3 separate regions of the Homo sapiens genome follow, and all the other regions are linked to region 2. Evidence: promoter capture Hi-C in 16 types of primary human blood cells and fetal thymus (Javierre and others, 2016). All regions are on one chromosome and are shown on one strand. Each heading gives the region's core, a stretch centred on a gene start or on the middle of the fragment in contact. The rest is flanking DNA. Distances are from core to core; before and after follow the strand shown.

Region 1 (4,425 bases), core at 927-3,426, 270 kb before region 2:
TTTCTTTCTTTGCTCTGATCCTGGAGAGTCAGTGTTGACATCCTCGAACTCCTCCCTCAACATCTGGGACAGCGAATTCTGCAGTTTTTTTCTTCTTCCTCACGGTGTGCTTCTCTATCTTCTTTGCTGCCCTCCCAGTGTTGCCTCTGCAGCACGCCAAATTGTGGCTGGTTAGTCACCTGACCTTTTATATTTTGTCTCTTGGAGATTTCCCTTATTGCCACAAGCTTATCTCTGTGTAAGTGCTTTTCAGACCTATTTATTTGAATTCAAACTTCTTCCTGAGTTACAGATAAGTTTTTGTGGAAAGCTACACTGGGAAATATTTTTAGTATCTCAAATTTAAAATTCCCAAAACCAGAGCATCCAAAAAGTTTTATAAGCCCACCATAGAAAGGGATCTTTATTTTCATCTACTTGTCTCCTTCTGAATCCTCCTCCTCTTCCCCTCCCAATGTAAACATGACAAAAAGCAATCTGCTTTCTTAGCTACCCTGTATATGTACGGTGTCATGGTTCTCCTAAAACTAAAAGTCTAGGCCAAAAACCTCAGATGCATCCTTGACAACTCCTGCACCCTCTGCTTCACATCTAGTTGATTACCAAATTATGTTAATCTGGGCTCTGTGGTTTCATATATACTCACTGCTTGGCATCCTGTTCCCATCATCCTAACATAGGCCTTGAGCATAGCTTGCGTGTATTCAGCCCACCTTATCGATTATTTAGGTTGTTGCCCGTCTCTTAAAACACCTCTGGTGGCTCACTACTGTCTGTCAAGTTAAGTTCAAAGTCTTGAGCATGGTATTTAAGACCCTCCAATTTATCTTGGCTTTCTTTCTTTTGGTGGGGGGCGGGTGAAGGGGCTAAACTGCACTTGACTACAAAGGGTGGGGAATTATTATGGTTTTCTCTTCCGCTATTTCCCTACACTTTCCCTCCAGCATGCTTTTATCTTTCACTTGGATTTCTCACAATCATCATTTTACCTTTGCCAATTCTTTGTGCCCTGCAAGGGTTCCTCATCATACATGAAACCATCTCTAATTCCCTAAGGCTTCCTCCTCGGAAATTTTGAATTGACTTAGGCACTTAGCAGACTAGTTCTCACATTATAATTATGAAAGCAGAGGTACCTCCACCTACCTTCCATCCCCAGTGTCATGTACATGACGGACATAAACTTTCACTAAACAACAAACAGTTGAATCTGCCATCACAGTAATGCATTAGTCTATAAATTAATCACTGGTTGGTCTTCCTTTCTTCCCCTATAGTGGAAACTGGATGTAAACCAAAGTGATTTCACAGGTAATATTTTTCAAACTCAGAGACAAAGGAAAACTGTAGTGGAAAAACTGTGTTTCCAGAAGGTTTTTTAAAAGATATTTTTGACAGTTTATGACTTTCTGCTGGGAGAATGACATTTACTGTTTCTGACTGTCTTAAATGTGCATTTATCAGATGTTGTGCGTTTAGACAACATTTGCATGATGATTTGCGTTAGCTTAAGTGGAAGCAACATAGACTTACTTGAATTTGTGATATTTTGGAAACCTGTTCATTTTATAGATGGGGAGCTAAAGGGTAAAAGAGTTGGTCTTAGAATCTAGCTTAATGGTTCTCAACTTTCTCAATACATTAAAGGGAGGTGACATGATCACAACAACAACGGGGTTTATTGTAGCCAAGGAAGTTGGCCACCCTGTAAGATTCACCGTCTGGTTACTTCTAGTTAGCAACAAGAGGGCTCAAGACCACGCAGGCAGGAAACTGATAGAAGCACCATGACTGAAAGTCGAGCCTCTTCCCAGTCCATTGCCCCATCATTTATGCCATGTGGAAATTGCTCTGCCAAAGATAAAGTGTTGACTACAGTCTAAGTGATGGGCAGAAAAACCATCACTCAACTCATAATGGTGAGTTGTACTGAGAATATGCTGTCTTAGGTTTAAAGTAGCATATTTAAGAGCAGAATCTTCAGATGACACAAACTCAAACACGCTTCTGTTACGAATGTATAAATCAGTTGGAGGAAAGTAAGGCCACCTCTTTCAAATACTTTGCTCAATTTCAAATTTATTGTTTTTTAAGATTAAAAGGTTGTAAAATACTTCCTCTTCCCCAACGCTTTATCTCTGCAAGGTTAAGAATTGTATTGAGGGTTTACAAATAGGAGCTTGGTAGATTATTTTCTAATTCTCAGATGATTTTTTTCTGATTTGTGAGCTATGGGTCAGTGTCCAGATTGACTATGTCCTACTGTGACCTAGAATCAAACATTGGAGTCCAACAGCATCACTCACTCCCTGCTTATTAGCAACCTAATTACCTAAAAAAAGAAAAAAAAAAAAAAAAAAAAACTGGAGAGACAGGCTGCCAGCTGTCAGGAATACCTTTTAACATTTTTTTCTCCTAAACCTGCAACGAGGCACTACCCAAAGCAAAGAACTTTAAAACACCAGTACTGAGAAACTGTGACTGTTGCTAGAGGATTTTGCATAGCAAACCCAAAAAACCATCTTTTGAAACTAAATTATACTCAACGACAGAAAGACATGTTTCCCCTTTTATGAGCTCCAAGTTTTAGTACTGGCCTGTTAAGTGTTTCTTCATAGGTAAATATTCGGATTTAATTCTATGCTTTTATTCTTACCTGTGTTACACTGATGTGAAAATCTGAAAAATACATGAGACAAATATAAAAAAGTGATTCAGAAGAAAGTAGGCATTTGTTTTTATACTTGGCAACTGCAGTTGAGAAGGGGGTGTATTTTATCAAAGTAAATTTCAACTGAGAAGAATGATCTTCATGCCAATCTTTATAAAAATCAAAGTTTTTTTCTTTCAAACACCTCAGTCCTCCTAATCAGTTTCATATGTTGTGTTAGTGTTATGTTCAAGGACAGGCAGTCAGAAAGCCTTCTGCTCTGATGTGCAGTCGGGGGAAAGGTGATGGTCTAACGTTGAAATTCCTAGTGATCTAAATATTTAGAGTGTGAAGTAGTTTGTAATTATTCGGAGTACATGACTGGCATGGATACTTGAGCCAGTTCATTTTTTCATAAAGGGTACATGGCACCAAACAAGCATGTCATCTCTTGTAACTGACAAATACATTCCACAAAACAGCAACATGTCAATGGTATGAAACGCTACAGCGGTCATGTGGTTTCATGTGGATGTTATACAGCTGACCTTGTATCATTAACCTTTATGGTTAGGTATTAACCTTTGAAACACTTAAGAAAAAATGATGTATGAGTTTTAAGGTTATCCTGTCTCTGCCTTTTCACATTATTAATATGGGCAGCTAATAACATTTAAAATAGAAAAATTGCCTGGGAGAAAAAAATGTAGCCATCTATAACCCTCAGTCAAACTAAAATTGAAGTGACATTTCAAGTTTGAATAGGATAGTTAAATGTTTATTTTGAAAATATTTCATAAATTATAGTCCATGTTTGATCAGTTAGGAAATAAGTCAGATTTAAATTCATACCTTCCAATTACTAGAGAAAACCTGAAATACGTAATTCTTATAACAATTATTCTTTCAAAAAGCACAAATTATGGAGATGAATATCAATCAAAAGTAATATAGTATAATCTAAGGTGGGGGAGGAAAAGAATGTGGTTTGTCTATATTCCAGGAGAAGAGAATCAAGTCAAAATGAGATCTGATCTTTTCCAAGTTATTCTGTCTTCATCTTAGTAGAGTGTAATTCCACATGCATCTTGATGTTCCAAGTATCATTAAACATCTAGTAATCAGAACAAATGTTCTGCCAAATTCCGTTTATTATTTTAACTGGTTAAGGCATTGAGCACTCTAGATTTATACATGTATAATTAAAATTTCTATTAAAAAATAAACCTAGATGGGAGATTTACATTTTTCTTAATCTATGTTTACACAAAGAAGAGATCTGTTTTTAAATATTACATCAGATCTTTGTGAATTCAAATAAATCAGTGTGACACTTTGCCAAAACTATTTGTAAAAATGATGGGTATTGATGCCCTGTGGTCAGGGAATCTTCTCTGTGGGGTTTTAGAATTTGCTTGTTACTCAAAAATACCCTTATTCCGGTTCTCACTGTTGTTTTCAAGCATATAAGCTTAGCCTCAACGGATACACTTTATCATTTGTACACTGTCAGCCCTTATATGTCCTCAATTGCAAGTATTCCACATGAAACAAGTGCAGCTCCAGAAACTTCTGCCTCTTCCTGGATAGATCCATAACTGGATATTTTTGGTAAGCTTAATTGCCTGTATACAGGAACTCAAAAAGAGCCTTGCCACCACAAAGAATAAATCTATAACCCCTATTATCGTGGGTGCTGTTTCAAGGCTCTTTTTGTTGCTCAGCGTATTTTCATGACCCCTCTTCCCATCATCTTGTTGTCTCTCAGTGAAAAA
Region 2 (3,849 bases), core at 53-2,552:
CCCCCAAGGAGGAGCTGCGATCCGAAGGCAATGCCAAGCGAGAGCGGTGGCGCGTCTGTTCTTCCGGAGTCTGTAGTCTACAAATAACTCCGGCCAGCAAGGAGGTGACAGCCCCAATATACCTCCCACTCCCCTGCTATGGCCTTGCTCCGCAAGCTGTGGAGGGGCCAGCGGAGCCAGCCAGGCAGCGAGAGAGAACGAAAGACGCCCAGCTCGTTGCAGCCGCCAACCCGCCTCAGCCGCCAGTCCCTAGTCCTCAGGAGCTAGTGAGGCGCTGCAAGGCGAGGCTGGGGCCTCTAGAACACAGTTTAAGGGGTGCGCGCGGAAGTGGGAACCAGCCGGTGGCCGCTGCCCGGCGCCAGAACGTCTACCATTCAGCCCGGGCGTGCGCGGGGCGGGGAAGAGGCTGGAGTAGAGAAGCGAGCGCCCGCGAGTGCGTGGCCGGTCCGCGAGCGCGTGTGGTGTCTGCCTTGTGAGCACTGCGGGTTCGCTGGACCCCGCGGCCAGGGCCGCGCCCCGCACCGCAGCTGTCGGATTACCCACCGTTCGGTTTTCCGCTGTGGCTGAACACAGCGGCTCTGCCCTTGCCAGTCTCCATCTCACCTCGGGGATCGGCAAATGCACACATCATGGATTCTCCGGATGCTCCAACCCGCGGACTCCAATGGGCGCCCCAAGACGCCCCCAGACCCAGCGCGGCGCCCCAAGCACATGGGACCCTCTCAAGGCAACTCGCCGCGCAGTCAGCGGCCGACTAGCAGGTCCGGATGCTCCTGCGCTCTGGCGGCCTGGACTTCGCGCCCTCGCTAAGCGGGCGCGTCTGCCAGGCGCTGCTGCCACCAGCACCAGGAGCGTGTTCGGGGGCCTCCGGGAGGTGGAAACGGGATGTGGGGGTCATCCTGCCCGCTCCTGACAACTTTTTTTCCTACGTTTCCCTGCAGACCCAGAGCAGCGAGGTCACGGTGTCCGCGGCCTCAGCAGGAAGGACCCCGCGATGGTTCTTCACAATTCACCCCCGCGAACAACGCACCCGAGCCTGCGCGCACGGAGGGCTGCCGCGCGTGGAACTGAGCGGGTCCTGGGTTGGTTTGCGGCCCTCTTCCCTCCGCCCACTCACATCCCTGCCGGGTGCGTCCGCGCTCACCTGTCAGTGCGGCGGGTCCTCGGGGCCTGCGCTTTCGACGCGTGGCGCTGAGTGCGGCCGCGGCCAGAGCCGCCGGGGCTCGGCGCGGGGTCAGCGGGACCGAGAGTGACGCGGCGGCCGTGCACTGGGTCGCCCGGTCCGCGGAAGGCGCACCGAGTGCCAGGCATCGCGCCGTCTCCCGTTTAAATGCCGGCGGCAGAGCGCGGCGCCCGGGGCCGCGCCTCTCCATTGGCCAGGCGCCGCCGCCGCCGCCAGACCCGCTATCCGCCCCCTTTCCCGGTACTGCCCCCGCCCCCCGCACCCCTCCTGCTTCCCCGCGGGGTCCCCTCTCCGCCCGCCTCGCCTCTTTGTCTGCTCCCCCCGCCCGGGCCGGCTGGGAGAGGTCACCCCAGGGAACCGCGCCTGGAATGCACAGCAAATCACATTTTCCGCTCCCGTTGGAGAGGGAAGAGCGGGAGGAAATCCCCCCGGCTGGCGGCCCCTCATTCCTTCTCTGCCCCAGGTCTGGGCTTTCCCTGTCGGCCGCCCGGCATCGCCTGCGTTGGTCCCGCGCTCAGTAGCGGAGACTGCGCTGGGAAGAGCGAGATCTCCGTGGGATCGTGCCAGATTCGGCCATTCTTCCCCTCTGGAGGGAACGGGACTGCGGGATGCTCTGGTCGAGCGGCCGTCGTGGCTCCCCGGCGGCCCCGCCCGAGGCCCCCAACTTCGAGGGCGCTGACCCCGGCGCCCCCGTTAACCTGGCGGGCTCGCTGGCCGCCAGCAGGAGCCTGTCGCCAACATGACACCCTGCTCTCCTCGCCCGCCAAGGGTTCTTTCAGCCCAGATGCCGGCGGCCTCCCCTGTGAGTGTACAGAGGGGAGTCACGGGAGGAGAATAAAACTAAATGACCGTCAAAAGTCAAGGCTTCTGTTCCTAAATTATCTTAAGAGACAGAGAGAAAACAGCCACTGGGCGAGAGGGGTTTTCTGTAGCATATCAAAGACGAATAAGTCAGGAAAATAAAACGTTAGATGAGGAAGTAACTTCCCAGAAATTTAGGACAAAAACCTACCGACGTGTAAAACCAATGTCACATTCCGGATACCAAGTACATAAATAGTTTTCGAAAGATGAGCGAACACTTTCATTTGTTCTCTTAGCCTGAAAAATTGGTTCCTCAAAGAGGCCGTAAGTTTTGTGTGTTGAAGCTAAAGTCCGTGCAAAAATTAACACGTCTGCAAGATCTGCAGACCAGCTCCATCAGCCACGTCAAATGAAGACTTTGAAAAAGATTTGCTACAGAAGGAAATATGAAGGTGTCTGTATTGTCTAACGCGAAATAAACAAAACAATGAAATCCATCAAAAGATACTTACGAAACACCCGTAATTTAAGTACTTGACTAGGAAAACAAAACCAGACCAGAAAACAGCCTATTTTTTTTTTCTCTTTAGTCCGGCGTTAGGGGGAAGAAGCAAGAAACATCTACTAGATGCTGTTAGGAACGTGAAATAGATATTTTTAAATAAATGAAGCAAGAAGGACGTCTGCATTAGTATCCTTAAAATCTTAGTCCTCTCAATGTTTTGTTTGTGCAGATGGCAGTTTCTACACATGAACTCGAGGCTGCACTTTACAATTCTCAATCAGTTGTTGTTAAGTCATGCAGTGAGCCACAGTTTGTAGTTGCCTACAGAATGGGAGCATTGAACCAGCTTGAAGACCTGTCTTGCTCACGTGGGCTCCTGGAGAGATAGGTAATCAGAAATACACAAAATACTTAGGCGATGACCAGTTCAGTCGAAGCCCACCACCAAGCTGTATTGGAGCCAGCTGTTCTCCCAACGTGCAAACTGCTGTACTTCTCCCCACAAAAGGGAGCATATTTTACAAATTCATTAAGTCCTCCTCATCTAAAATAAAAGCTTTAGTCACTTCTTTTTTTCCCAAGACTTATATACTGCCCCAAATCAAATACAAAGAAGCTGAAATTACCTCCCAAAATGGAAGTGATTTTTTTTTTTTGGAGCCCTGACACTGTGGTTTTCTCTATCTCCATGTATCAAATCATGATGACTCTTCCTCATGCAGTTTCTCAGGCCATATTTTTTATAATAGAGCCCCCACCTCCTCCCCACAACACACGCCCCCTCTCTGTATCCCAAAGAGATAGAGAGGGCTATGCATCACTGCATCATTTTTCTTCATTCTCATTTCTCTCTCCCTTCTCCCTGGCATTATAGTATTTCCTGCCACTAGAATGTAAGGTTCATAAGGGCAGGGATTTTGTCTAGGTCACTTTGATTACATGAAGCACATAGAATATAGATTGTCTAACACAGCACTCAGATTCAATAAATAGTTGTGGATTGAGAATGTTGAGCACATTCCCACTAAGATTGTCAGCTGAACCAAATGCTGAGGGTATAACCATCGTGGATAGGATAAACACAGGCCCTCACCTCAAAGAATTTATAGTCTAGTATGTTTGTAAATATTTATATAGAAACACAAGTTTTTTGCCCAATATTTGTGTTTCCACAGCTCCTAACAAGTTCTTGCAAACCATTGTCCAATCAGGAGGAAGGCATAAGGATAAAAACTCCCTAGACCGCTCTAAACATGGTTACATAACTAAAACCTGCTTTTAGTAAGGGGAGAAGAAGTAGAATGACTCGATGTAGTCATGCCTAAACCATGATGCCTAAACCACGATCACTAAATGA
Region 3 (4,194 bases), core at 1,104-3,603, 300 kb before region 2:
CCAAAGTGCTGGGATTACGGGCGTGAGCCACTGCACCCAGCCCATCATATGGATTTTAGTAGGACACAAACATTCAAACCATAGCGGTAAGAAACTAGTGGCTTGGAGAATTAGAAGTTTCCCCCCATCTTTTGATACTGACATTTTTATATTTTTGCCTAAAGAAATTCTTATGTGTTGAATGAGGAAAGGTTGACAGTTACAATTCCTAAATTCATGGGATTTCTCCCAGTTATTGTCCAATATTTTATTTTTCTGATATAGAAATTAGGCTCCTTTCTGTAAGTTATTGAACAACATAGTAGGTTGACTCACTGATAATTCACTTCTTTTTTGAAAAAAAAAATCAACTATTTTTAGAGTAGTTTTAGGTTGATAGAAAAATTGAGCGGAAAGTAGAGTTCCCTCTCACCGTCTACTGCGCCCACATACCACACTTTCCCTTAGTATTAGCATTCTCCATTGGAGTGGTACATTTGTTACAGTTGACCCAATACATTATTATTAACTAAAGTCCACAGTTTACATTAGAATTGGCTCTGTACTGAAGATGGATTTTGAATAATGTATGACCCGTATCAACTATTATAGTAGCATACAGAGTAGTTGCACTGTCCTAAAAACCCCCTGTCGCTCCACTGATTCCTCCCTCCTCCCAAGGCCTTGGCAACCACTTTTTTTTTTTTAAATTATGCTTTAAGTTCTAGGGTACGGCCTCATCCTTTTTGAAGAGGCAGGGTGAACCCCAGCCACCCCAAATTTGATTGAGATGCCAATATTGATGACCGCAGATGCATTATGTGTTTGCACACACACAAGGGCATGAAAAGATTTATTATTCACATAAGGAGACCTCTGGGGAAAGCGAGACAGGCCTCTCAAGCTGGTCCAAAAATGACTTGCAAGAGAAAGTGTAGAAAACTGGCTTGGGGTTTTTATGGCGTTCAACAGACAGTACTGGGCTATGGCTTCTGCGGGCAGTGGTCTGTGTGGTTCACATCTCCTGCGTCAAAGCCTTTACTATCAGATCGCCCAGGTGTGTGGGACACCGGGGAAGAAGGAGGGGTGAGGCTTAAAAACTGTCAGGAGTCAATCATCAAACAGTGGAGTTAGATCTCTTCCTGTGCTTTTGCTGACGTGTGTGCTGGTTGAAGGCCCGCTGACAAAAGGTGTTGGATCAACATTACAGGTAACAGCCTCTCACCAGCTGCTAGCCTGAGACACCCAGTTAAAAAGCTCTGCTGGCAGCTGTTGACTACTTTCTCTTTACTTCACTGCCTTTGAATCTACCTCCACTGTTTCTGACAGACACAAAACCGGTTATGCTTTCTTCAAACTGCACAGTTACTAAGGACTGCATTGTTTATAAGCATCTGGAAGGGAAACAGAGGACTCGCAGGGCCCCAAGACCAGGCTGCACACTTTGGTTTCATAAGCTTATTAAATATGAAAGCTCACATTTGATTTTTATTCTTAGATTTTGGAATAAATGACTTGTGACTCTGCCTTACATGAACTGTGACCATTTTTGTCAATGTTAGAAATGGTCAGAGAAGCTTTGTGCATTCACTCACGGATGAGTTTGTTTGAATTTGTATTTATCTGTCAGTGATTAGCATATTTTTTCAAATGTCATCCTTTATGCACCAGCTTCTTGAAATTTGATACATATTTATACTATTTTTACTATTATTTAATTTGTTATTTTAATGAATTTACTGTTTTTGCTTAAATAAGCCTTATTAAAGCAGTGGTTCTCAAACTTTGCTGTGCATTATAATCACTTGGTAGGCTTGGTAAAGTAGCCTCAGAGATTCCAAGTCAATAAATCCACCGTAGAGGAAAGAATTTGCATTTCTAAGATGTTCCAGGTGATGCTGATGCTCCTGGTCCAGGGACCAAACTCCGATCAACACTATCTGGGAAGCATTATCAGTGAAATCACGGGTTTTATGTGTGTGTTTGATAATTTTTCCCTAATGCACATTAAAACATTTAACTGTCAAAATAAAAAGTTCAGATACCTACAAAAAATGACCTTGCCGGTGTGTGTGCTAAGTTTTGGAAGCACTGATTGAGTATCGTCCAAGTATAATTCAGAGGAATGATTTTTTTTTTTAAGTCACATATGTACTTGAAAATACAACAATGTGAGGTAGTGGGTAAAGGCCAGTGAGAGGCACAGGCCGGACATATCAGGATCCGCGGGTAGGAGTAGATCCATGTTTCCTACTCAGTGGAGAATTCAGAAAGTTTCTACTTCCTAACTGTACATAATCCAGTTTTGCCCATGTCATGTGCGTGTGTGATGCGGTGGAGGCTTGGATATATGTGTAAGAAAGAGCGCATAAATGAAAATCAGATTTAACCAGAAACTAGTAACTACAGGCCCTGAAATTCCCTTAGAAAAGACAGACGAATCATAATCACAGAACTTGTCGGTGCCAGCCATTGAAATTCACACCATTCACTCTGACCCCTGGCTCTTCAAACCTCCCTGTGATTAAAATTAGCATTCCCCTTTTACAGAATTATGAAAAAAGTTACCCCAAGTTTACGAGTGATTCTGGTAATAGGATAAAGCAAGCAACTTTGAAGTTTACAGAGGCTTGGGGTTTTGTTTGCATCTGCTGCTTATGTAACCAAAAGAACGGCAAGAACGAAAACAAGGGAATAAACAAAAACTCTGCAGAGCCAGCACACGTTCTTTGGGTCTGAATGATATTATTGGCACTTAACTAGCATGTGGTTTTAGGAAAGCTGTTCAACCTGAGGCGTTTTCTCATCTGTAAAGTAAGTCTCGATATGATAGGGTCTACCTTTTCAATTTGATGTGAGGATGGCAGGAGTTAATCTGTGTAAAGTGCTTAGAACTATTCCTGAAAAATAACCCTCAATAATGTTATCCGTACCCATATGTAATTAGGTAAACTCATTTAGTAAGTGATGGACTTCAGCAGTGGTTACTGCATGCCTTCTGTGTTTGTGGAATCATCTGTAATTCTGCTCTTCACAAATTGGAGGGCACAAACTTTGTAATGACACCTGGCAGGAAGGATGTTTTGTTATTGTGAACTGATCAAAAAGGAAGGTTTGTGCAACATAAAGGGAAGGAACCAATTAGCTAAATACTAGACTAAGAAAGCTTTATTTGTACAGAGAAAGTTCTTTCATTTTTTTTTCCTCCAAAATGTTGAATCCTGCCAGTTAGGAGCCTTACTCCTTTCTCTGTCTTTCATGGACTACATTATTGTTTTCAAAAAGACGTTCTTTAGACTTGTTTCTTGTGGAATAGATTATTTAAATTGATTTATTAACTTCCATTAGGGGCTAATGTGACTTCAAATGAGTCTGCCCTTTTCAACCCTGATGTAGAATTCCTGTTCCTCCTTTTCACACACTTATAAGGTCCCAGAGCTACTGAATACCAATGCTAGGGTCAAGTTCTCTTTTTAACAAATACACACATCCTTGGTCTTGAGTTGACACCTCTGCCTCCCCATCCTCACACTCAGGCATCTGCAAGCCTCAAGAAGCATCTGGGGGCAGGGGGCTGCCACTAACAAGACACATTTGGAAAGCACTAACTTAGTTTTGACTCATGGACATTATTCTGTAACCTTTATATTCTCTTACTACTCTCTTGTGAACTCTCAAAGTGAGCATTCACCAATGCCAGTAGTAAAGGCATTAGCTTCCTCCTTCTACATGCTGCCCAGGGATTCTGTCATCCTTGTTGGGATGGGAGTGTGTTTCCTGCCACCCGTCACACTGGGACTCTTGGTAAAAATATTTGTTAAAGGAGGAGATGAATCATGCTTTCCTAGATGTTAGCTTTGCAGTAGTCTCCTTCATCGGTTTGTTAATGAATTAGTCATAGCGATATCTGTCACACCCATATAGGTACAATTTACACAAAATGAATCATTGCAAAATATAGTCTGTATAATTTCTATTTAGAATGTAGATGCTATTCTCAAAGGACATCAATTTCACAAGAAGCTTGGTTTAAGTAGCTTTCCTTTGACTACTTTGTAGAAGCTTGGAATTGGTTAGGGTTTGGATATTTATCATGACATGGGTTAGGACTCAACATTTACACAAGATTTAAACTTACTAAGTCACTTTCTGCTTCTTATTTTATGAATTCAGATGTTCTGTTTTGCCTATATTGATATTTGAGGAAACGAATGT

The links. Contacts are between HindIII fragments. The CHiCAGO score rates a contact against its expected background, and 5 or more counts as called.
Region 1: a fragment that was not itself captured here is called in contact with the fragment with the promoter of GREM1 in region 2 in 6 of 17 cell types (M2 macrophages, M1 macrophages, M0 macrophages and 3 more); the score reaches 11.0 in M2 macrophages.
Region 3: a contact is called between a fragment that was not itself captured here and the fragment with the promoter of GREM1 in region 2, in 4 of 17 cell types (naive B cells, M0 macrophages, M1 macrophages and 1 more). The highest score is 7.3, in naive B cells.

The regions. Positions count from the first base shown.
Region 1 is chr15:32,985,988-32,990,412 of GRCh38, reverse strand. The region is part of intron 7 of FMN1 (formin 1); the gene reads left to right. Among named protein-coding and RNA genes, the nearest start is that of FMN1, 210 kb to the left of the region's middle. The HindIII fragment of the contact is 3,894 bases long and covers 230-4,123 here.
Region 2 is chr15:32,715,457-32,719,305 of GRCh38, reverse strand. GREM1 (gremlin 1, DAN family BMP antagonist) reads right to left here and starts at 1,302. Exons shown (of 2, transcript NM_013372.7): 1 at 1,145-1,302. GREM1-AS1 (GREM1 antisense RNA 1) reads left to right here and starts at 441. Exons shown (of 2, transcript NR_109767.1): 1 at 441-761; 2 at 942-1,205. RefSeq lists enhancers at 2-579, 580-1,158, 1,296-1,796. The HindIII fragment of the contact is 6,086 bases long and covers 1-3,050 here.
Region 3 is chr15:33,013,631-33,017,824 of GRCh38, reverse strand. The region is part of intron 6 of FMN1 (formin 1); the gene reads left to right. Among named protein-coding and RNA genes, the nearest start is that of FMN1, 180 kb to the left of the region's middle. The HindIII fragment of the contact is 1,589 bases long and covers 1,559-3,147 here.